Regions from separate parts of the Homo sapiens genome. Here regions 1, 2, 4, 5 and 6 are each linked to region 3. Evidence: promoter capture Hi-C in 16 types of primary human blood cells and fetal thymus (Javierre and others, 2016). All regions are on one chromosome and are shown on one strand. The core of a region is centred on a gene start or on the middle of the fragment in contact, and the rest is flanking DNA. Distances in the headings are between cores, read along the strand shown. Region 1 has its middle 130 kb from the start of NABP1. Region 2 overlaps LOC107985833 (a long non-coding RNA gene). Region 3 holds the start of TMEFF2 (transmembrane protein with EGF like and two follistatin like domains 2). Region 4 holds the start of LOC107985833 (a long non-coding RNA gene). Region 5 has its middle 180 kb from the start of NABP1. Region 6 overlaps MYO1B (myosin IB).

What was found. The method cuts DNA at HindIII sites, captures the fragments that hold promoters and counts their contacts. A CHiCAGO score of 5 or more calls a contact.
Region 1: a contact is called between a fragment that was not itself captured here and the fragment with the promoter of TMEFF2 in region 3, in 14 of 17 cell types (total CD8 T cells, megakaryocytes, neutrophils and 11 more). The highest score is 10.7, in total CD8 T cells.
Region 2: a fragment that was not itself captured here is called in contact with the fragment with the promoter of TMEFF2 in region 3 in 3 of 17 cell types (neutrophils, naive CD4 T cells and non-activated CD4 T cells); the score reaches 9.8 in neutrophils.
Region 4: a fragment that was not itself captured here is called in contact with the fragment with the promoter of TMEFF2 in region 3 in 3 of 17 cell types (neutrophils, total CD4 T cells and activated CD4 T cells); the score reaches 9.5 in neutrophils.
Region 5: a fragment that was not itself captured here is called in contact with the fragment with the promoter of TMEFF2 in region 3 in 4 of 17 cell types (activated CD4 T cells, neutrophils, non-activated CD4 T cells and 1 more); the score reaches 6.9 in activated CD4 T cells.
Region 6: a contact is called between a fragment that was not itself captured here and the fragment with the promoter of TMEFF2 in region 3, in 2 of 17 cell types (neutrophils and activated CD4 T cells). The highest score is 6.4, in neutrophils.

What each region holds. Positions count from the first base shown.
Region 1 is chr2:191,551,305-191,554,778 of GRCh38, reverse strand. No RefSeq gene overlaps it. Among named protein-coding and RNA genes, the nearest start is that of NABP1, 130 kb to the left of the region's middle. The HindIII fragment of the contact is 2,051 bases long and covers 934-2,984 here.
Region 2 is chr2:191,531,624-191,535,486 of GRCh38, reverse strand. The region is part of intron 2 of LOC107985833 (a long non-coding RNA gene); the gene reads right to left. Among named protein-coding and RNA genes, the nearest start is that of NABP1, 140 kb to the left of the region's middle. The HindIII fragment of the contact is 5,493 bases long and covers 1-3,863 here.
Region 3 is chr2:192,193,079-192,196,761 of GRCh38, reverse strand. TMEFF2 (transmembrane protein with EGF like and two follistatin like domains 2) reads left to right here and starts at 1,829. Exons shown (of 10, transcript NM_016192.4): 1 at 1,829-2,409. The coding sequence starts at 2,238. RefSeq lists an enhancer at 1,308-1,883. The HindIII fragment of the contact is 4,792 bases long and covers 1-2,754 here.
Region 4 is chr2:191,513,609-191,517,521 of GRCh38, reverse strand. LOC107985833 (a long non-coding RNA gene) reads right to left here and starts at 930. Exons shown (of 3, transcript XR_001739229.1): 1 at 859-930. The HindIII fragment of the contact is 3,630 bases long and covers 1-3,472 here.
Region 5 is chr2:191,495,230-191,499,237 of GRCh38, reverse strand. No RefSeq gene overlaps it. Among named protein-coding and RNA genes, the nearest start is that of NABP1, 180 kb to the left of the region's middle. The HindIII fragment of the contact is 670 bases long and covers 945-1,614 here.
Region 6 is chr2:191,410,472-191,414,271 of GRCh38, reverse strand. MYO1B (myosin IB) reads right to left here. Exons shown (of 31, transcript NM_001130158.3): 27 at 3,100-3,206; 28 at 92-224. Among named protein-coding and RNA genes, the nearest start is that of MYO1B-AS1, 170 kb to the right of the region's middle. The HindIII fragment of the contact is 775 bases long and covers 1,573-2,347 here.

The sequences.
Region 1 (3,474 bases), core at 710-3,209, 640 kb after region 3:
ATCTTTGGGAATGTAAATCAAGGTCAAGACTGACCTTGAACAAAAATGTAAAGTTGGCAAATGCCGACTTCAAGGCTCTGAGATTCTTTCCTGTGCCTCTCCTCCACACGTTCTTTGGCTTCCCTAGTCCTCAGGACATTTATTCTACTTGTTCTTCCTCAAATCAAAAGCTGTTCAGAAAATTTTTTTTGATAAAATGATTCACTCTAGGTATAAGTAACTAAGATAATTAATGGAGAGGCCATTAGGCTGAGCCAGCTCCAGGGCCCTGGATTCCTACAGAAGCAAACCGAAACCCAAGTATCAATGGTCATATTCTAGGAAAATGCAACTTCAGCTTTAAAACTCAGGAGCCACCAATTAACCCTTTTAAAGCCTTCTCTTGCCCTCTTGGTGGAGCCTCGAGCCACCTGAAGTCTGATGCTACCTGATTTATGAATCGTTTGCTCAAATAAACTCCTTAATATTCTAATGTGCCTCAGTTTATCTTTTAACATTAATGAGGCTTAATATGACTTCTCTCTGTAATGTTTGCATTTTTAATTACTCTATTTTTGAATAGAAGAATTATGTGTGTATGACACATATTATAAAAGGTCTTCCTAGCAGCTACCCAGAATATTCATACAACTATTCCTTTTTATGGTTTAAAAAAGGCACATGCTATACCAGCTGTTCTGCACCTTGTTCTTTTTACCCAATGTCTTGTTTTTGTTTGTTTTGGTTGGTTTTGTTTGGTTGATTCCTTTTTCTTCTTGATCAGGTTCATCATATTCAAACCTAATGTATTTTGCATGTTATGCCATTGTATTTGCACTTTCACAGAAATATAAACTCCGTCTTCCTCAGGTAAAAAGAATAAATCTTTCTTTGTGGAAGTTGAGGAATCTTCAAGCAGAGATAGAGGAAGTTTCAGGTGGTGGATTTCAAGCTTTAAAGAGGATGTGGATCACCTGCAGAGCTCGCAAAACGAAGTGAAGTCCTATTTCTGATTCAATAGGTCTGGGGTGGAGCTGGAAACCAAATATTTAATAAGGAAAGTGAGTACCCCTAATGCAAGCTCTGTGATCATACTTTGAGAATCACTATATAAAGGCAGAAACTATCAGCCCCGGTTGCATATGAGAGTCACCTGGGGGACTAAAAAAATTCTGATTCTGACTAGCTTGGTCTGGGTCCCCAAGTGAATCTAATATGTCACCAAGATTGAGAATGCAGCAATTCTTAAACTTGGCTGCTTACTGGAATCATTTAGGCATCATTAAAAAATACTGATACCTGGGTCACACCTGCCCCCAACAAAGATAATGCTGTAACTGGTGTGGAGTATGGCTGGAGTACAAGGAGCTTCCAGAGCTCCCCGTGATTCAAACAAGCAACTGAGGCTGAGAGACTGTGGTTTAAGCAGATAGGCTTACTGAGAATTCCAGAGTCAAGTCAGGTGAAGCTGACAGATCCAGGAATGTGTTTGTCTTCGCGCCACTCTATTACAGACACAGGAAAGCAGGAGAAAGACAACGTGTGGTCCTCTGTTCTTTGTTAATAAACAGTTTGTGCTGATCAAATAATTTGTCGAATCAGGACTTATTTTTTGTCATTAGTATGGAAGGAAGAGAATGACAGCTAACTGTCCATTCTTGATCAATAAGATTGATCAAATGAGTTAAATCTGAAGAGAGGACCAAGCCACATTTCCACATTAAAAAAAAAAAAAAGATTCTGGCCAGTTGCTCACATGAAGGATAGTTCCTGTGTTCTGGCTCAGTGCATTCTCTATCTTTTTTGTTTTTTGTTTTGTTTTAGACAAGAGTCTCACTCTGTTGCTCAGGCTGGAGTGCAGTGGCACGACCTCAGCTCACTGCAACCTCCGCCTCCCGGATTCAAGCGATTCTCCTGCCTCAGCCTCCCAGGTAGCTAGGACTACAGGCATGTGCCACCACTCCTGGCTAATTTTTTTTTTTTTTAAGTAGACATGAAATTTCACTATGTTAGCCAGGCTGGTCTTGAACTCCTGACCTCAGGTGATCCGCCTGCCTCAGCCTCCCAAAGTGCTGGGATTACAGGCGTGAGCCACCGCGCCTGGCACAGTGAGTTATCCAGCTGAGAACTCTAGCTTCTGCTATCTTTTCTGTGGCATTCCAAATGAAAGTATTACTTTATCGGCTTCCACTGGTCAGAAGGCATTTTCTCATTCCTCCGGGCATTGATAATTTGGCAACATTGTGATAGGGGAACTATAAACCAGCTTTCCTGAAACTCTTCTGTAACGAGGTCCCCATCAAAAGAAGTAGTTTCCATATTTAGCTCCATTAGCCGCTTTCTACAAAGACCAGCTTAGAGCTGTAGAGCCGGTTTTCAGTTTCCAACTTCCAAAATACGTTGACAGTTTTTTGTTTTTGCTTTTGTTTTTTTTCAACCATCCTTTCTAATGACCTCCCTGGATAGCAAACAGATTACTTTCTTGTTTTTAACTTGATCAGGCATAAGAACAAGAACTGTTAACATTTCACCGGATGTACGCTTTGGCAACATACCAGCTTAGGTTGTTTAATTTACAGCAATATGGCTGCAGGCAAGTCAGACTAATGAGGGAGACTAAAGATTTAGAGTTAAATATTAAATGTATCTTAGTCTTTATTTCTTGCTGTTCCAACCAATAATAATAAAAAAAAAATGCCTCTGGGATATTCGAGCATGAAGACATCTAGCTTGTGGTGCCTTCTGTAGAGCCAGAAAGACATTTAATTCCGTATTACACAGATGGCAGCCACAATATTTGTTTCCTTTTCATTTTATTTTGGTAGTATAACCTATGCTGGCTGGGGACACAATATACTAGCAAACAGCTCACATCTAAAGTAGCCTGGCCTTGGTTTTCCTTTGCAGTTTTATAGCTCGTCTTTCTCTCTCAAGAATTTACTATAAACTGGGGACTGGGTTAGAGAACCAGCAGTGATGCAGGAGAGGGTACTCTGATGAAAGCTTTTTCTGATTCTTGGATTTTGCTGATCAAATGTAAGTTCATAGTTGACTAGTATGTCTCAGTGTTATAATCAAAGAAGTTGGGCGGGGTGTTCCCTTCCTTCTTACCTATTGTCACTAAAGCACCACAAACTAAATCCTGCCCTCTCTGGTGAAAGAACTCTTCCTAAATGTTCCCAATAGATTGAAATTTTGTTTTTGTCTCCAACCTTATCCGGTTTAACTCCCCACCTGCTCTGGGTCCTGTTGACTCCTAAGTTCCCCTGGAGACCTGGCTTTTTTAACCTCCTCAGTTCCGATGGATAAATATTGGAGGACTTTCCCAACAAGGCACAATAGCGGGGCTCAAGCCTAATATTTTACCACCATTTCTCACACCCTCCCATGTTCTTGCTGTACCAAACTCTTTCCATTACCTGAAACACTGTTCAATGTTATTCAGAAAACATTTACTGAGCATCTGTTACACCTCAAACTCTGAGCTGTTGCCAG
Region 2 (3,863 bases), core at 501-3,000, 660 kb after region 3:
AAGCTGCCCCACCAAAGCAGGGTTGCCAGGCCATTTTGACAGATATTCACCTCTGTATTCGATAGTGAAAACAACATCAGTGGGATAATTTATTTTGAGCAAAGTTCTCAATTATCAATGTGTTATATCTGTGGCTTGTCCTTACACTCCAATACTTTAGCCAAGACACTTTCATTAAATCAACTCCCCCCATCTCAAACTAACTGGTTCCTAACTAACCTGAGCCTCCTCTAGTACTTTGTTTCCTTGTTATTGATGCCTTTGTAAACCCCCAGAACCTTATCCTTTCAACTAAACTGGTTTAAAGGTTTATTTGCCTCAAGCCCAGTCCAGTTCCTTATCTGTAGCAACTTGGTTCTTCATTCCAATTCTGCAGTCTAGGCTCCCAGCACCTCTTTTATAAAGGGCTAGAAAACCTTGCTATCCTCAGTCTCTCCCCTCCACAATGTACAGCCCACTTACCACCATACTTTTCCTCCCACACATAAGAACTTCATTTCCCTGCTTAAAATCCTCTGGAATATTCCTCAAAGTGGCATGCCCACACTGTTCCCAGTTGGCTTCTCTGCCCTCATGCCCAACCATTAACTGCCACGAATTCATTGATCTGGCCACACAGAGTCTCCCACTGTTTTCTAAATGGTCCATGCCTTTTCTTGCCTCAGGTTCTTTCCTTTTTGCTGTTCCCTCTACCTGGCTTGCCCATTTCTCTCTTCTTTGCTCACACTCAACGTTTAAAGCTCACTTCAAATGGCCCCTCATCTCAAGAGCTCTCTCCAGGCAGCACAGATCACCTGACTTCATCTATGCTTCCTTCATGCTTGGTGCTTAAGCTATTTCCATATAACTTATCGTTTGCATGACTCTCTGCCTCAAGCAACTCCTGAAGAAGACCAAGTGTTCTTTCACATCGTATCACTGCTTCTAGCACAAAGGTAGTTCAATAGCAGTTTGAGGAATTCGACTGAATGAGTTTGTATACGTGTCATATATGCTGTAACAGCTAAAAGGCTCAATGTATAAAAGCCAACAGTAACCTGCAACAATGTAAGAGAACTTCATGAAATCTCTTCCCAAGGTCACATTTAGTGAATATATTCCAAAAATGATCGAACTGATCATCTTACCAGATCAGATCTCCTTCTACTCCCACCTCCTTGTGGCCATCTTATTCTCCTTGTACTGCCAGCCCCCAGCATGCTGGTCATAGAGAAAGTGCTCCATAATTGTTGATGAGATATTGAGAAATGAATAAATTATGTACAAAAATACACACACATTCTATATCAGCATTTTAATCAGTCTTAAATAAAAGTAATACAGCTACAATATGTTCAATTATTCTCTTCACCTTGGATTCACCTGAATCTTCAAAGAGTTCTACCTATCAATTATATTTTTCTCTCTAAAACTATGTTATAAATTGGCAGCAAACTTTCAGACCAAAAATAAGAATTCAGGAAGGAAGCTATTTCTCTACCAAGTGAGTATTGCATCATTGACACTGAATGCAGTTGGCCTCATCAGTAAGATGAATAATAAGTAGATTGAGTTTTTTAAATAGTAAAAAAACCCAAGTGAGTTTCATAACCCAATCATTAGTGGATGAAGCCAACCTTGAACACACAACTAGACAAGAAGTTATGTTTATGCTCTGTACTGTTTATCTCCAGGCATTTTATTGCCATATTTAATACACATTACAATAAACACTAAAAAAAAAAAAGTCTAAGAAAAAGAGCATTTAATGAAGGCAGGCCCAAATTACGACAGAAATATTTCCAAAAAGAGAAACATTTAATTCTTTTTATAGAGAACTAAACCTGAGATGAAGCACCTCAAGCATTTCCCCAAATATGCATCATTGTACAAGCAAGGGATTTCTCTCCATCAGGTTAGATGTGAGAAAGGGATTGATTTGATTTGGACCCCTGTTCTTGCCAGTTAGACTCACCTTCCTGACACTCCTCTTTCTTATTTAGAAGCAGCATACATCCCCCAATAGAGAGGATCCTCGTTATAAGCCAACCCAAACTGCACTTCTGTTAGTGCTAAATGCTCTTTTCAAGTTAAAAGAAATATAGTAGACAAAGCTCCAGGAACTCAGTCCTATATTTCTCTTCCCTTTGGAGCCTTACCCGCAGGCAGCAGGGGAGAGCTACCATACCATCATGGTCTTATTTAACGCTTCAGTCATTTTTCACTCTCTTCTAGAAGCAACTCTAGGCTCTAGCTCAGGTGTATCCGCAGGTGCCCTGGGACTTTACACCTGCCATGATGGAAGACATAAACACAAGTTAATTAAGTCTATTGTTCAAACAATTTGTTTCTCACTGAGGCTGACTCACTTGCAACTACATCTGCACAATTTTATTTCCAGAAGTAGCCTTCCGCCTTCATTCTGGGTGTGAGGACTCTCTCTTTAGAAATTCACTTTATTTCTGAGACTCTTGGGTCACTGACAGAATAACACTTAACCAAAAAAAAATACATCAGCAATTTAATCAGCATTTGAATATATATATAGCTAATGGATGACAAGCTGTTTTTTTGTTTTTGTTTTTGTTTTAAAAAAAAATTATGTGATACTTGGGCCAGGTGTGGTGGCTCATGCCTGTAATCCCAGCACTTTAGTAGGCCAAGGTGGGCAGATCACTTGAGGTCAGGAGTTCGAGACCAGCCTGACCAACATGGTCAAACCCCATCTCTACTAAAAATACAAAAATCAGCCGGGCGTGGTGGCACATGCCTGTAATCCCAGCTACTTGGGAGGCTGAGGCAGGAGAATTGCTTGAACCTGGGAGGCAGAGGCTGCAGTGAGCCAAGATCGCGCCATTGCACTCCAGCCTGGGCAACAGAATGAAACTCTGTCTCAAAAAAAAAAAGTATGTGACACTTGTAATTTTTTTTCCTAGCCATAAAGTTCCTCAGGGTAACATCATTAAGGGAAAACTGGAATAAGTAGAGTGTTGAAGATTTAGTATTGCGTAGCATTCTTACTCAAAGTCAGGACTGAAAACTACTTTTGAAAGGCTTTCATAGTCTCTCTGGCAGAGTGAAGCATAGAAAATGAATGGAAGGTTGAGTCCGAGGAGAAAAATTTAGGCAAGACATACACAGAGGGAGGTTTGAAGCATGCTGCTTTGTTTTTGTACAAAAGGATCAAAGGACATTTCTCACATTAATTGCTTCTATTTTTACTTGCATCCTTATTGTGCTTCCATTCATCTCTCTAACTGATGTCCTGGACACTCTTTTTGTCCTTGTTCCTCTCTCATCACATGCCACATAATTTCTGCCTTGGATCATCCATCCCTTTCCTCTTCTCTCTCTCTCTCTCTCTCTCTTCCTTCTCTCTCTCTCTCTCTTTCTCTCTTTCTCTCGTTAGGTTCTGTATTCTAGAGCAGCAGAGAAGGCCAGCTGCCACCCATATGCTGCCCTTCCATGTTGTAAAGATGTCCCTGGGCAGCAGCTAACCAGCCAGAGCCCTCATTTCCCAGCCTCCCTTGCGGTAGGTTGAAGCGAAGTGACTGAATTCTTCCCAGTGGAATGTGAGGGGAAGGGTGCACCCTCTCTCCAGGCCTCTATGCAATCTTCTGTATATCATCTGTGGAATTCTCCATGCTCTCGCTTTCTGCTTCAGACACCTGACACTGATGCCCACTCATGGTCATATTGGAAGCCATCTGCTGAAGATGGCAGAGTCTCTGTCAGCCTAGGACCCTCATTGATTTCCTCTTCCATCTGCCTTCCTCCCACAGGTGGACTGTCTATAAGCAAGAAACAGATTTCATTTGTATTATGTCATCGAGATTGCAGGGGTTACTATTGAAACAGCTAGCAGTACCTTAACTAATACATGA
Region 3 (3,683 bases), core at 580-3,079:
GGAGGGGAGAGGGACAGTCTCGGACGGAGGCGGAGATGTAAGATAAAGGGATGGATTTCACACAGGAAAAAAAAAAAGATTTCGTTGAGGCACTGAGGTGCTGCACGATCACATCTCTCAAAGGAGAAGTTAAAAAGCAAGGAAGTGGGAGGAGGTTGGAGGTTAAAGTACTTAAAAGGATTACTCGGGTACAATTTGTTTTTCTGCTGGTGTCTGCAAAGGATAGATAGTCCCGTTTTCAAAGTATATGAATGCCTCTTTTAAGTGATTGGGAATGGACACTAATTGCCTGTTAAATGTTATCAAATGCTCTCCTAAATTCAGGGGACACAGAAAGAGGGGCACAAAAGGAGAATTTAAATAGAAAAAGGGAGGATCCGGAGGCTTTTGAAAGCGGGGGGAGAAGAAGGAGGAGGGATAACAGAGAGGAATAGAGAAGGAGAGCGGAGAGAAGATAAACAAAAACAAAAACAGGAATCACTGAATAATCACACACCAAAAAGAAAGCTCTTCCCTATGGGGCATCCAAAACACTGAGACTGCAATAGTGACCCCGGTCATGGAAGAAAGATGTTCCTCTCCACCCTTGTCCCCGAAAGCTCTTGGTCCCGTTACTGGCGACTAAAATTCCATTAGGCTAAAGAGTGTGTCTAACTGCCTGAAGAATGCAGCAGACGGAAGGCGGGTCCCGCTATGCCGTTTGCCCTTCCCGCTGGAGAGAATGAAAGAAACGCGCAGAGCCAGAGACTCCTGCCGAGTTAGACCTTCTCTCGTCGCCCCAGGTCACCGGCCATCCGGCAAAGACCCGAGTAAGGAACGCAGGGTCACTGCCTGGGCCAACAAATGGAGCCCGCTCTCCCCTTCCCGGACGCCGCTGCCCGGCCGATGCTCCCGGCAACCCACCCGCGGCGTATGCAGAGGAGCCTTTCTCTTTCTCTCAGACCACTTGTCCCGACCAATCTGACCTTCCAAACACATCTGACCGCACCTCCCAGGTGGACACACTAATAGGCTACGGGCTGGAGAGGAGCGGGTGATGAGGAGAGGGATTCAAACCTGCGAACGCTTGGGCTGGGTCGGAGCTGCGGGGGGCCTGGGAGGAGAGAGGGGAGAAGAGAGAAGGAAGGAGAGCGCCTGCCGGGATGGCTGAGCTGCCTCGGCGAGCAGCCTTGGGGTTGCACGCTCTTGTGGGAGATGCTGCTGTTGCTTCCAGGTCGGCAAGAGCGGTTCTAACACCATCGCCTCTCACCCTCTTTCCTGTAAATCCCTAGAGAAACGTCCCTGGCCTCTCCGCCGCGACATTCCCAGCCTGCATCCCCCTACAGCCTAGGCGGCGCGCTCCCGCACGCTGGAGCGCCGGTCGCCAGCAGGACGCCCTCTCCCGCGCCGACTCGCCCCTCTCTGCCCTGCTGCTGCTGCTCCTCTGACACCTCCGCCCCCACCATCTCCAGCTCGGAGAGACGCCACCCAGCCGCGGCCCGCACTCGCGGCCCGGGGTCACGCGCGGAAGAGGGGCGCTAGTCCGGACCCCGCCTTCGGTAGGGGGCGTCCTGGAGCGGAGAGTGAGGCGAATGGTATATGAGTGTGCGGGTAGCCCACCCTGAAGCCCGAGCTTCTCATTTGAGCCATCCCCGCCTAGCCCCACTCGGGCCAGCGCCTGGCGAGCGAGCCCATCTGTGGCTTCCGCGGCCGCCTCCTCCTTGCATCCTTGCACCTCCTCGTCGACCCCTCCCTCCCGGGACCTGCATCCTGCTCCACCAATCAGAGCCCGACTGCCTCTTCCCACGTGACCCCGGGCGGGCTGAGGACCTGCTGCTTCCCAAACGCCAGAGGGATGCGGGCGGCAGAGCTCGAGAGGCGGCTGCCGGGCTGCGGGGCGCCTTGACTCTCCCTCCACCCTGCCTCCTCGGGCTCCACTCGTCTGCCCCTGGACTCCCGTCTCCTCCTGTCCTCCGGCTTCCCAGAGCTCCCTCCTTATGGCAGCAGCTTCCCGCGTCTCCGGCGCAGCTTCTCAGCGGACGACCCTCTCGCTCCGGGGCTGAGCCCAGTCCCTGGATGTTGCTGAAACTCTCGAGATCATGCGCGGGTTTGGCTGCTGCTTCCCCGCCGGGTGCCACTGCCACCGCCGCCGCCTCTGCTGCCGCCGTCCGCGGGATGCTCAGTAGCCCGCTGCCCGGCCCCCGCGATCCTGTGTTCCTCGGAAGCCGTTTGCTGCTGCAGAGTTGCACGAACTAGTCATGGTGCTGTGGGAGTCCCCGCGGCAGTGCAGCAGCTGGACACTTTGCGAGGGCTTTTGCTGGCTGCTGCTGCTGCCCGTCATGCTACTCATCGTAGCCCGCCCGGTGAAGCTCGCTGCTTTCCCTACCTCCTTAAGTGACTGCCAAACGCCCACCGGCTGGAATTGCTCTGGTAAGTCCAGAACCCCCGTCCCCGACCCTTTAACTCCGCAGAAGAACACGCGTATCCAGCACAGACCAGCCTACCCTAGCGCGCCTCCTCAGCCCCTCACCTCCTACTGCCCTAGACCCCTAATACCACCCACCTCTATCCAGAGAAACAAGGGGAACTGTTGCAGGCCCGGGGGTGAGGGGTGGTTCTGGGATGGGCAGAAAGTGCAGGTGTAGCAGGAAACCTTTGCATGCTTGCGCTTACATTGGAGCTGCGAGGATTTTGAGAAATATTAAACGGGATGGTTTTCTGGGTTCACTGTTTTGAAAGAGCACCAATCCTAGGGGAAACACTGAAACAGAAGCTTTGTCATCATTAAAGAAAAAAGTCTTACTAGGATGAGGAAGAAATAACTTTATGAGAAAGAATGAGCGAGAAAGCAATAAATCAAATGGTGACTGCAGGGGAATCGCTGATTCCTGGCAAAGGTGCCATGAGGTCGCACTGGTCTCCCGTTGAAGACCAGGTCACACAGATTCTAGAGGAGCTGGGTTTCAATAGAATTTCTCTCTCTCTCTCTCTCTCTCTCTCTCTCTCTCTCTCTCTCTCTCTATCTATCTATCTCTCTCTCTCTCTCATTCCCTTCTCTCCTAGGCGGCAAAAGACATTGGTTTTGCAGTCCAGATATGCCCCTCTCTTTGCTTCCCTAAGCTTCAAGGTAGTACAGGGGAGTTGAGAAAAAGAACACTTTGCGGGTCTCCCAGGCCGGAGTGGGCATGACTGAGGCTGGTCAGGCTCCATGTAGGCGAGCCGAGGGCGGAACCGACTTCAGTGGGCGCTGACTCCTCCATTTCTGGACAGGCTTCTGTGGAGTGGGTCAGGCACTCTTCTTGCTCGCTCGGGTTCCTTCAGATTCTGACGGCGAACGCTTGGCAGGCTTCGCTCTGCTGAAGCTTCCTAATTAAATAGGGCCAGAGGATGGGAGTTGCTGCACTCCTAGCTGGCATAGCATTTCGGTTTGACAGCCTGTAGTATACTGGGCAGAATTGTGGTGTAATTTCCTTGGCATTTTAAACTCCGTTAACATGCCTGGGTATTGTCCCCTAGGTGTGGTCTGTTCTAGTTTTAGCAAGTGTGTATGTAATTTTTCATCTTCTGTGAATATAATTTTGCTGTAGTTAAATCTGGCTCTGAATAAAGTGTCTTTCAAAGATGTATATAAGCTGAAGTGTATGTAACTTTAGAGAGGAGGGAATGACCAACTGTAACTCAGGGTGAAAGCCTGTATAGTTCCT
Region 4 (3,913 bases), core at 408-2,907, 680 kb after region 3:
TCATTGTTTGTTTGTTTTTTAATCTTTCCCACTAGAGTGTAAGGTCCTTACATTGAAGCCAGCCTCTATCTCCTTGTTTATCACTATATACCCATGGTATAGCACAGTATCCAGCACAAAGTAGGTGCTCAATAAATATTTCTTAGCCCAAATTACTAAGTTGTCTGAAACTTTAGTAGTGACATTAATTTTAGCCTGATCTAAAGAAGCACTGTTTTTAGAATATTTACACTGACAGCAAGTCTTCTTACTTCCTCTCTTACTACATTTTTTATTAATTAAAATTTTTGTGGTTTATGCTGTGCATTTTTACGTTTGCTTACTGTTGTCATGTATTCCATGAGAACAAGCAGGCTGTCTGTTTTACTTATGTGTTTATTTATTTATTTTTATTTTATTTTTAGATGGAGTCTCACTCTGTCACCCAGGCTGGAGTGCAGTGGTGCGATCTTGGCTCACTGCAACCTCCACCGCCTGGGTTCAAGCAATTCTCCTGCCTCAGCCTCCCTAGTAGCTGGGATTACAGGCGCACACCACCATGCCAGGTTAGTTTTCGTAGTTTTAGGTGAGATGGGGTTTCACCATGTTGGCCAGGCTGGCCTTGAACTCCTAACCTCAAGTGATCCACCTGTCTCAGCCTCCCAAAGTGCTGGGATTATAGGCGTGAGCCACCGCACCTGGCCTTGTTTTATTTTTAAAAAGAACCATGCTTGACAGGTTTTTAGATTGATCCCCAGCCCTACTGCCCAGTAAACCAATGGTTCAGCAATGGTAACATAGAGACCTTCAGCTTTTCAGCCTAAGGCTTTCTATTTTTACCCGCTACAAGACTTAGCTTGAGCCTTGAGAGGAACTTACCTTAGTTTTCTTAAGGGTCTGTAGCCAATAATGTTATCCATATGTCTTTTTAAAGCCTTAAATGGAATTGATGCAAATTCACTAGTATCCATTTATCTCAGTTCTGCAAAACCAAGTTAGTAGAGCCATGCAGCCAAGGTCATACTGTTTATTCCAGAGACTTATTTCCCCCATGTGCCTTTTCGAGCTCCCACAAAGGACTACTAGTGTTATACTTGCCCAAAGTGAAAGCACAACATGAGATTCTTGTAGTAATCTGTGTTCTCCTCCCTCTCCTTTCCCTTCCCCGCTTGCCATTCCTCCTTCTCTCCCCACCCGCTCAGTCATCAATGAGTTCCGTTCTGTCCCCACTCTAATAACTATAAATGACACCAATGCCCAGCAAGGAGCAAAGGTCAAACAGCTCTCCTGTATTCTTTATTTTTCTACCAAGATTGCAGGATTTATGTGGCAACAAAGAATAAAGAACTGGGCAGCAAATACAAATTTGTAAATTTTAAGAACAGAGAGCTTAAAACACAGTGCCCATCAGAAAAAAATATACATATATTATAATTGTTTCAAGTCTTGAAAAAGAAGTAGTCTTTGCTGTGGTGAGCAGGCAAATAACAACAACAGATTCCTGAGGGAATGTGATAGGCTTTTCCTATGATAGGCTTTGAATCAAATAAGTACAGGTCATGGATTTTCAAATATTTTTCTAGTGTGTCCATTACTTTCCAAAAGGTCCATCTCTCTGCTGTTGCTGTTGCGACAGCTGCCAGGTTCTCCAAGCAGAAGGAGGGAGAGAGGCTCCTGCAGCTTCCCCAGGGCACTCGACCCCTCCACCCACACACCTTCATAAAACATTCAGAAACCTCTCTGCTCAGTTATATGTGCATATACCACTGCACAATAACTGTCCTAACCACATGTTATCCCAAATAACCTCAATGGCACTGTTATGACAGACTACGAACAAGGCATGGGGACTCAGCCAGGATTATGTAATAGGGTTTTGGCCTGTCTTGAAGCCAGGAGTGATTATTTCTACTAATAATAGCTATCATTTATTAAATTCCCACCAGGTGCCAGCTGCTTTATATATGAAATAATGATGAGAGGTGGTAACATTTATTGACTTGCTCATTATATGCTAGGTACTGTTACAGATTTGTAACATGTATTTTCTCATTTAACCCCTACTCCCCCCAACTGCTATATATTAATTTTTTTAGCTATATATTAATTTTTTTATTATATAAAAAAGGGCTATATATTAATTTTTTTAGCATCAGTAAATAGATGAGGAAACTGAGGTGCAAACAGTTTAAATAACCTGCCAAGGTCACACAAGTAGTAAATGCTGGAGCTGGGACATGAAGCCTGGAAGCCCAACTCCAAAACCACACCCTTAACCATCATGTTAAATTATCTTCCTGGTTGAGTTACTTTTAATCCTCATCAAAACTCTACTTTATACCCAGTTCATATGGGAAAACTGAGGCTCACAGTTGTTAATTAATGTAGGTAGTAGCTGGGGTTCTGTTCAGTGTCATGAGACACCAAAGCCTGGGGATGTGGGGTACAGAGCTCTATCACCCCAGGAAGTTCTGTGGCTGTCTAGCCTTGGACAAAGGAGTTAAGTCGCTGAAGTTTTCTTCAAGAGCTTCCACCTTCTATCTTTTCCATGTTTGATCCCCTTTCCATCTCTGAACTCTCCCTGAGGCCCATCGCCCCCTGCCACCACCCCTACCCTCCCGTTATAAAACTCTTCTTTGTCTCCTTCCTGAAGGGGCCTCTATAAGGGAACTCATAAATTAGCCCTTCCTAATTTTTCATGGTATAATATTAGCACTTTAGAGTGCTGACTCTGCTGAAAATGCAAATCTCAGGCCACACAGACATAGTGGTCCTGACTCGGTAGAGCTGGGTGGGGCCCAAGGATCTGCGTTTTTCAGTAAGCACCCCATGATTCAGATGTGGGCAGCCCAGCTTGATTGACTCTAGTGCAGTATGTCCACACCTTCTGACAGAAGATTTGCATCATAGAAAGGGATTTTATGTTGGGGATTTGAGGTCAGGGCAAGTGAGATATTAAAGCAAAAAGACCTTCGGATTTTGTTTTTGTTTGTTTGTTTTGGGTTTTTTCCTTTTTTTTTTTTTTTTTTTTTTTTTTTTTGAGACGAAGTCTCACTCGCCCATGCTGTAGAGCAGTGGTGCAATCTTGGCTCACTGCAACCTCCACTTCCCAGGTTCAAGCGATTCTCCTGCCTCAGCCTCCCAAGTAGCTGGGACTACAGGCATGTGCCACCACGCCAGACTAATTTTTGTATTTTTAGTGGAGATGGGGTTTCACCTTGTTGGCCAGGCTGGTCTCAAACTGCTGACCTCAGGTGATCCGCCCGCCTCGGCCTCCCAAAGTGCTCGAATTACAGGCATGAGCCACCATGCCTGGCAGGCCTTTGGGTTTTGTTTTCCTCTGGCTATCATATTGGTCAGATTTGGGTATATATTTTACTTATGTAAATTTTAAAGTGAAGGCCTTTCAAATACTCTTCTCTTAAATTTAAATAATTGGTCTTTTAAAAAGACAGAATAAAATTTAAAAGTTCCTGTTTATTACCAAAAAGCTTACTAAATAATAACTTTTCCTTTATTTGGTCATTGAATATACGCATATCTCACACGTGAAATAAACAGTGTTGGAGTTCCTTTTATGCTGAAACCAGGCTTCTTTCCAGGTGTTTCAAGGGGTGTGTCCTGAGGAATAATGTATAGTTTTTAAAGACACAATTTGTTTTTTTCTTTTTTCTTTTCTTTTTTTTTTTTTTTTTTTTTTGTGAGTCTCACCCTGTCGCCCAGGCTGGAGTACAATGGCATGATCTCAGCTCACTGCAACCTCCGCCTCCCGGGTTCAGATGATTCTCCTGCCTCAGCCTCCCAAGTAGCTGGGATTACAGGCACCCACCACCATGCCCAGCTAATTTTTGTATTTTTAGTAGAGACGGGGTTTCACCATGTTGGCCAGGCTGGTCTCGAACTCCTGACCTCGTGATCTGCCTGCCTCGGCCTC
Region 5 (4,008 bases), core at 30-2,529, 700 kb after region 3:
ACACACAGCCAAACCATATCAGGGAGATAGTGCTTAATGGATACAGAGATTTAGTTTAGGAAGATGAAAGAAGTTCTGGAGATGGATTATAGTGATAGTGTACAACAATGTGAATGTGCTTTAATACTACTGAACTGTACACTTAAAATGGTTAAAATAGTAAATTTCACATTATATATATTTTACCACAGAAAAAAGGAGTTTTTAATGTTTGGTTATGAAATATTTTAATCATACAGAAAAATACATATCAGCCACTTGTGTAAGTCTTTGGATTTAATAGACACATTTTGTCATGTTTGTTTCTTTTTTTTAAGAAATAAATCATCACAGATGCAGCTAAACCTTCCCTCCTTGTTCCAGTTGTATTCATCTTTTTCCTCCTTTCCTTGTATGTTTTAATGTTTTACTGTATAATAATACACTATTTTGTGTGATGTTTTAATCAGACAGAGAATATTATATTTTCCAACTTACTTTTTGTTGTATTTTTAGAAATTGTTCCACATTGACCTATGTAGTTCATTCATTTTTAACCTCTGAATATTATTCGGTTGTTTGAATCCCCCACTGGTGGACATTTAGGTTGCTTCCACTTTTTTGCTACCACTACAAGTGCTGCTGTGAATATCCTGTGCATGTCACCCTGAGTGCATGTGTAGAGTTTCTCCGGTGCACAGTCCTGCAGTGGAAATTTTGGGTTGTAGAGGACATGTGTTTTCCACTTCACTAATATTGTCAAGTTGATCTTTGAGGTGGTTGCACAATTTGAATTCCTACCTTCACTGAAAAAGACCTCTTGTTTCCACCATTGCCCTCAACAAACTTTGGAATTATTACTTTTTTTCCCATGCTAATGGATGTGAAGTGATATCTCACTGTGAGTTTAATTTGCATCCACCCTCCCCCAAACATCAGTGAGAGTGAGCAGGTTCTCACAAGCTTACTGAACATTCCAGTTTCTTCTTTGAAAAATTGCTTGCTTCCTAAATGGTAATTTCCAGAAGGCCAAGGATAGTCTGTGTTATTTATAGTTGTATATTCATTACCTAGCACAATGCCTGGCACATGATAGGTAGGCATCATTATCTGCTGAATGAATGAATTGCCAGGCATACTGATAGGTGCTAGGTAAAAATAGTATTTAAAAAACATTAATGACGGTAGGTGCTATAAATACTCCTGACCTTGAAGTTGATAGAAGTTAAATAATTTGCCAAGGCCACACAGCTATTACACGGTGGAACCTGGACTCAAACCCTGCTCTGTCTCATGCCAGAGCTCACACCCTTAATACTACAACATCCTGCCTCCCCTCAAAACTCAGATGGAAGACCAAAGAATAAAGAACAAATATATTACGGATCTTTAATGCTGTTAACAATTCTTTGTTATTTTATCTTGATTAGATCTCTCAAGAAAATAAAAATGTGTTTCAATGTCTGAAAGCACAGTTGCTTTTGGAAAGTATCAAATGATTTTCTTAGTTTGGAGGCCTTGTACCAGGCAGAAAAAAAAATGCTCCTCTTATTTAAAAGAAAAGCTGGCACCAGCTGCTACTGTTTCTAGATCATTTATATCTATAACCCATACTTTTCACCCAAATAGTAAGCTTACCCAACTGCCTATAAGATACCTCTTAGCTTGCCTCTCCGAAATTGAACTCTAGTCACCATCTCCCCCAAATCTGTTCCAGCCACAGCTTTCCCATCCCAGTTGATGACAGTTGTTGACAGCCCCACCCTTTCCGTTGTTCACAACAAAAACCTGTGCTCTTTCTTTCCCAGCTCACATCCCTCCCCCTCAGCGTATCTGCTGGCCCTGCCTTAACAACACATGCAAAGCTCAACCACGGCTCGCCACCCTCCACTTTCTCTCCCTGGTCTTATCATCTTTGTCTCTGCATTTGTTTCCTAACAGGTGCCCCTGTTTCTTCCCTTGCCTCCAACCATCTATTGGCAACACGGCAGTCAGAGTGATCCTGTTAACATTCAGATTATGTTCCTCTCCTGCTCAAAAGCCTGCAGTGACTCTCCATTTCATTCAGTTTAAAAACTAGAGTCCTTCAAAGAGCCACAGGCCCCACATAATCCTGCTCCTCACTCCTTCCCTGAGCTCATCTCCTATCTCCCCTCATTTGCTCCTCTCTAGCTACAGTGACCTCCTTACTGTCCCTTTCATATGCCAGGGCACTCCTCCCGTAGGGCCTTCAAGAGAGCCTGGAGAGCTGCTCCTCACATAGTCATGCGGCTCTCTTCCTTTCCTCCTTCAAGCCTTTGCTGAGATCTCACATTTCAAGAAGTCCCTCCTGAGCACCTACTTAATAACTTGATTCTTCCTCCATCTCCAACCCCTACACTTCCAATCCCCTGCTCTAATATTTCTCTTTTCCAAATCATTTATCACATTCTAGCATGACATGTATCAATACCATATGCTTCATCAATAATGTCTGTCCCCCCACCATGGGAATATAAGTCCCTCCAGGGCAAGAATAATTTTCATTTTGTTTACTGAAGTATTCCAAGCAACTAGAACAGTGTCTGGCATTGTTAGCACTCAGTTATTTGAATTTAACAAACAGTGTTTGCATATCCAATAACCTTCCTCTTCATCCCTTTCTTACTAAGAAAATTTCAGGTTTTTTTTTTTTTTTTTTTGAAAGTCTCACTCTGTCACCCAGACTGGAGTGCAGTGGTGTGATCTCGGCTCACTGCAACCTCCACCTCCAGGGTTCAAGCGATTCTCATGCCTCAGCCTCCCAAGTAACTGGGACTACAGGCATGTACCACTATACCTAGCTAATTTTTAGTAGACATGGGATTTTGCCATGTTGGCCAGCTGGTCTCAGACTCCTGGCCTCAAGTGATCTGCTCTCCTCTGCCTCCCAAAATGCTGGCATTACAGGCATGAGCCACCACACCCGGACAGAAAATTTCGGTTTGATGGAGGGAAAATATCAGCCCTTGAGAACGAATCACAGCCTTTGCCAGTAACTGGTCCTGAGGTAAGCATGTGGCCCCACTTTCAAAACTCTAAAAGTTACGTTTCAAAAATTCTATTGCAGCCAGGCTAGAGGCATATGACCTTAGATTTAATGGTGTTAGACTTGGATTGTGTATGTGATCACTATGGCTGATATCCTGGCATCCACGGGGATGAAAGAATCTGGTTCTCAGAATCAGCTCAGGTGGGGATCTGGAATTATAGCTGCTGCAAGGTAGGTGGTAATTATAGGCGTGCTTCATCAATAATGGCCCTGTGGTTTCATTGCGCATTGTCCCTAGAGGCAGTTGCCCTAATTGCATTGTTCCTGGTTAAAAAGACTGTTTCCTGGCTTTCCAAGAAATTCTATGAACTATTTACTATAATAGGTCCTTTCCTTCTTAAATTAACTAGAGTGGATTTTGATGTCTGCATCTAAGAAATGTGACTCCAAGATAGTGCCATTGAGGACGTCATTCATTAGGTCTTCAAATTAACCCTGGGACTCATTTCCTCCAGATTTCTTACAACACGATAATCAGTGTCATAGTGATTTAGTAAATAGTATATTTTCTTATACTTTCAGTTGAACACATACTGTTGTAAGTTGTACATAGTTCTTTAGTCCTATAAAAGATCTTCATATGCTCTTGTTTTATTTTGTTTTTTTTTTTTTTTTTTTTTTTTGGTTAAGAAAAGTGAGGACACCCAACCATGGCCTGAAATGTGTGAGAATGAAACAGAAAGAGAGCTGAAATTCTCTGCCTAATGCAATCAGAAGGACTCGCATTTCTGTCAATAGCTTCAAGTAAGAAGTGAAAGATGTGTGGAGGTTATAAAGAGAGAAAGAATAAGGCACTTCTACCTAGTTTATAGAAAGGTGGGAAGAGCATCACTCCATATCAACAAGAAACAAGTGAAAAAGCAACAAAATAATAATTTTCTTGAACCTAGTTGAGAGCACAGGGAAATCAATTAACCTAAAATATAAGGAAAAACAAGCCCTTCAAGAAGATGGGATGC
Region 6 (3,800 bases), core at 711-3,210, 780 kb after region 3:
ACATGAAATGCAAATTTTTACATTCAGAAAACAGGGTGACTATCCCAACTAATAGGTACTTCTTATCAGTCTTCAAGGTTAGCATTTTTACCTTCCCATTAGCACGGTTAATTTTGTTCACGACTTCAGCAATGATGATCTTTTCTTCAATGGCATCTTTGAGTTTCTTATACTTGGGGTTCTTGTTGATTTCCAGGTAAGCCCCTTGGAATGGTTGCCCAACACTAAAGGAAAAAAATTCCTGCACATTAGAAATAGTTTCAAATGAAAGTACCACTAAAAAAAGGAAACAGGTCAGTTGATTCTAAGGAGTAGCTGACAACTTCATAAAAATTGATTTCAATTTATTTTATATATTACACTTACATCTGTCCTAAATATAAGTTGGAAATGAAACCTTAAACCTATTTCAAATACACTTTTGGGGTGATCATGGCATTTGGTGGGCAGGACTTTGATAATAATCTTATCACACGGAACAATCAAGACAGAAATCACTCATAAGAACAACAGCTAAGACTCAAGTACATGGCCTCATGTGAAGGAAAAGGCAATTTCTTCTAATCTGTTAATATAAAGTTAACAGCTGCTCACAAAGGATTTACTAACGCCTTCAAACAATATGTGGCAGTGAAAAGAGCTGAAATCATTACCATCACCTGCTCTAAAGAAAAATTTCATTTCTTGCAGAGAATAAGAAAATCAATAGGCCTTCTGGGAAAGAACAGATCCAGGGCAATCACTTTAGAAGAAAACTATAGAACACTTAATATTAACATGTAACTGTGGTTCTAAGTAGGCAATACAGATGGTCTCTGACTTGGTTTGACTTAGGGTTTTTCAGCTTTACAGTGGTGCTCATAAACCATTCTGTTTTTCACTTTCAGTACAGTGGTCAATAAACCACATGAGATATCCAACACTTTATTATAAAACAGGCTTTGTGTTAGATGATTTTGCCCAACTGTAGGCTAATGTAAGTGTGCTGAGCATGTTTAAGGTAGGCTAGGCTAAGTGATTGTGTTCAGTAGGTTAGGTGTATTAAATGCATTTTCAACTTATGATATTTTCAACTTCATATGACATATGACAACTTCATAAAAATTGACTTCAATTTATTTTATACATTACGCTTGCATCTGTCCTAAATATAAGTTGGAAATGAAACCTTAAACCTATTTCAAATATATTTTTGAGGTGATCATGGCATTTGGTGGGCAGGACTTTGATAATAATCTCATCACATGGAACAATCAAGATAGAAATCACTCATAACCCATATGATGGATTATCTGTGTGTAACTGCATCATAAGTTAAGCAGCATCTGTATATGAAAGGAGAATCAAGCCTCTTCTCCTAGAATATGCCTCTAAATGGACAGAAGTAACCAAAGCAAACATTCAGAATCAGGGCAATTTTTTTTTTCCCAAACAAACTAATTTTTGTAAAAGGTTAACTGTACACTTATCACTAAGATATCAATTTCCCTAAAGACTTGTCGGGGGACTCTTTCAGGACAGGTTCATCAAAGGCACCAAGGAAAAACTGCTGCTTCAAGGAATCTATAAGCTTCATTTTGAGCTACAAAGTTCTGGCAATTTGCAAATACAAATTTAAATGCTTATGTTGTGGGTGGAGGATAAGGGAAGAAAAATCCACGTAGGTGGTCAGCGTTTCACAGCTCTCAGGATATAAAAGGCCAACTCCCATAAGAGCTGCCACTTTGCAGGGTGGTGGGAGGCTAAATTATTCCACCTCTCTCACTGCTGTGGGGTGAGTGTGCCACTATCCCTGAAAACTGATAAGACTACCCAAAAAGGACTTGGCTTGAAGTTAACTTTTTTTGGTTCCTATTCAACTGTGTTTTAAATTATAAAAATGCTAACAGGCTTTTAAATTGTTTCCTCAAAGATGTATTTTCCAGCCTGTAGTTTCTGAAGAGTCATCCACAGGAAATGTTCATTAAGAAGGTTATTCCCTAATTTAAAAATGTATAAAAAAAAAGCTGAATAAAATTAGTTGCTGAAGCAAGCATACAGACAAATTCTCCTGTTTGAATATGCTTTATATAACAGGCACTTTGGACAACTTTGGATTTAGACACTGTGTTTGACTTAAGGGAGTATGTATCACCTCAAGTAGCCACATCAGCTAACCAATGAAGTTGTACAATTTAAAATATTTAAACCCAGTGAGTCTGGCAATGTATATTCCTTTAATCCTTTAAAAGGAAGATATTTTAAATGTGTATAAAGTCACAGAGAATATAAACATAATTTACGTAATAAATGTGAATATACTCAGCATATAATACATTCTTTCTTTGGCCATTCATTGGAAGAAGCTTAAAGTTGTTACAGATTTGGCTTGAAATTGTACAATCTACTTTTTTATAAACACCAGATGAAAATGGGATTAGATTGCTGGGAGGAAGTGATGAATGCAGGAGATGTAAGACTATTGGGATAAACAGTCTTTACCAAGGACTTCACTTGCTGAACTTGGGATTGGTGTTCCTTCTTTTTCTGAGTCCACGGTGTCTAAAATAAAGGAACTGAACGTGCTGTACAGGCCACAGAAGTCATATCCGTTGAGTTAGCAGACCAAAGGGCACCACAGACCAGTGCTCAAGCAACACTCAAAAAGTACTGTCCTGGCTCGCTCTTTCATTTACCTTACAAATAAGTTTCTGACCTTGCTTGCTATGGCAGGAAGACTGGAATGGTGATTAAAGTATATTGCCAACAGAAATTTGGCTAGTCTTTGAAAACTACGGAAAAGGAACAGGAATTTACAATGCAAACGTATCTTAACAGCCTATATAATTTTTATGTTAAATGACTTCTAATTATTTAGTAAAGTGTTTGAGCTAATGCTAATGGAGTGAAACCAACAATCGTAACCTCATTTCATTAAACTGCACTATAGAAGCCATAGCTCAAATAAATGTGTTTACATCAAGCTGATTATAAAATGATTCACAGAACTAAAAATCACTCATCTAAGACTGAAATCAAACACCAGGCAAAACGGCGTACAAATATACTTGAGAAACTTTTATAATCCTGAATTTTATGGGTAAAGCAAAGCCATAATACCTAGATGGGTATAAAGCCTTCTTGTCTTTGAAGAGTTCACTGGCTTCTAGTTTCTCTTCATAAATAAGTTTCTGCTGGTCTGTGAATTGGTCCCTGTATTTTTTACACTGTGAGATATGAGAAGAAAGAAACAAAACATCATTTATATAAATAAATTATTACTCATTCTTAAATATGCTAAGACAATTTATCAGCAACAAGAATAAGGGAGAAAGTACAAAACATTCACTAAAAAAGGCCAAAAACATTTTTCCCTTGTGGGTTTTAAAAAGTTTGTCTTGGAAAACGTCAGAGTATTATTTGTATTGCAGAACCTGGAATGCTTCTTCAAAACACACCAGGGCCTAGTGGGCACGGGCCTTGCAAGTACTATTTCCTCCCACTATGTCAATCCTTGGAAATCCTCTAGTCCTGAGGCTGTCACTCTTCTAGAGAGACTCACAGTAAAAATATTGTGCATCACAATCCACTAAGCACATTTCCACACACATACAGAGAAAACTGACACAAAAGCGTCACAAAACAATACTCAATCCTTTCTATATATTGTACACTCTGCTATTTTCTATTCTATTGCATTTTATTGAAAAACGCTGGTAGTAATCCACTAAATTGATTTCATGACCACAAATATGCTATGACAGTTTGAAAACCACTGCTCCAAATCCCCCCACTACCATTTTACAATAGGGATGAGGGAC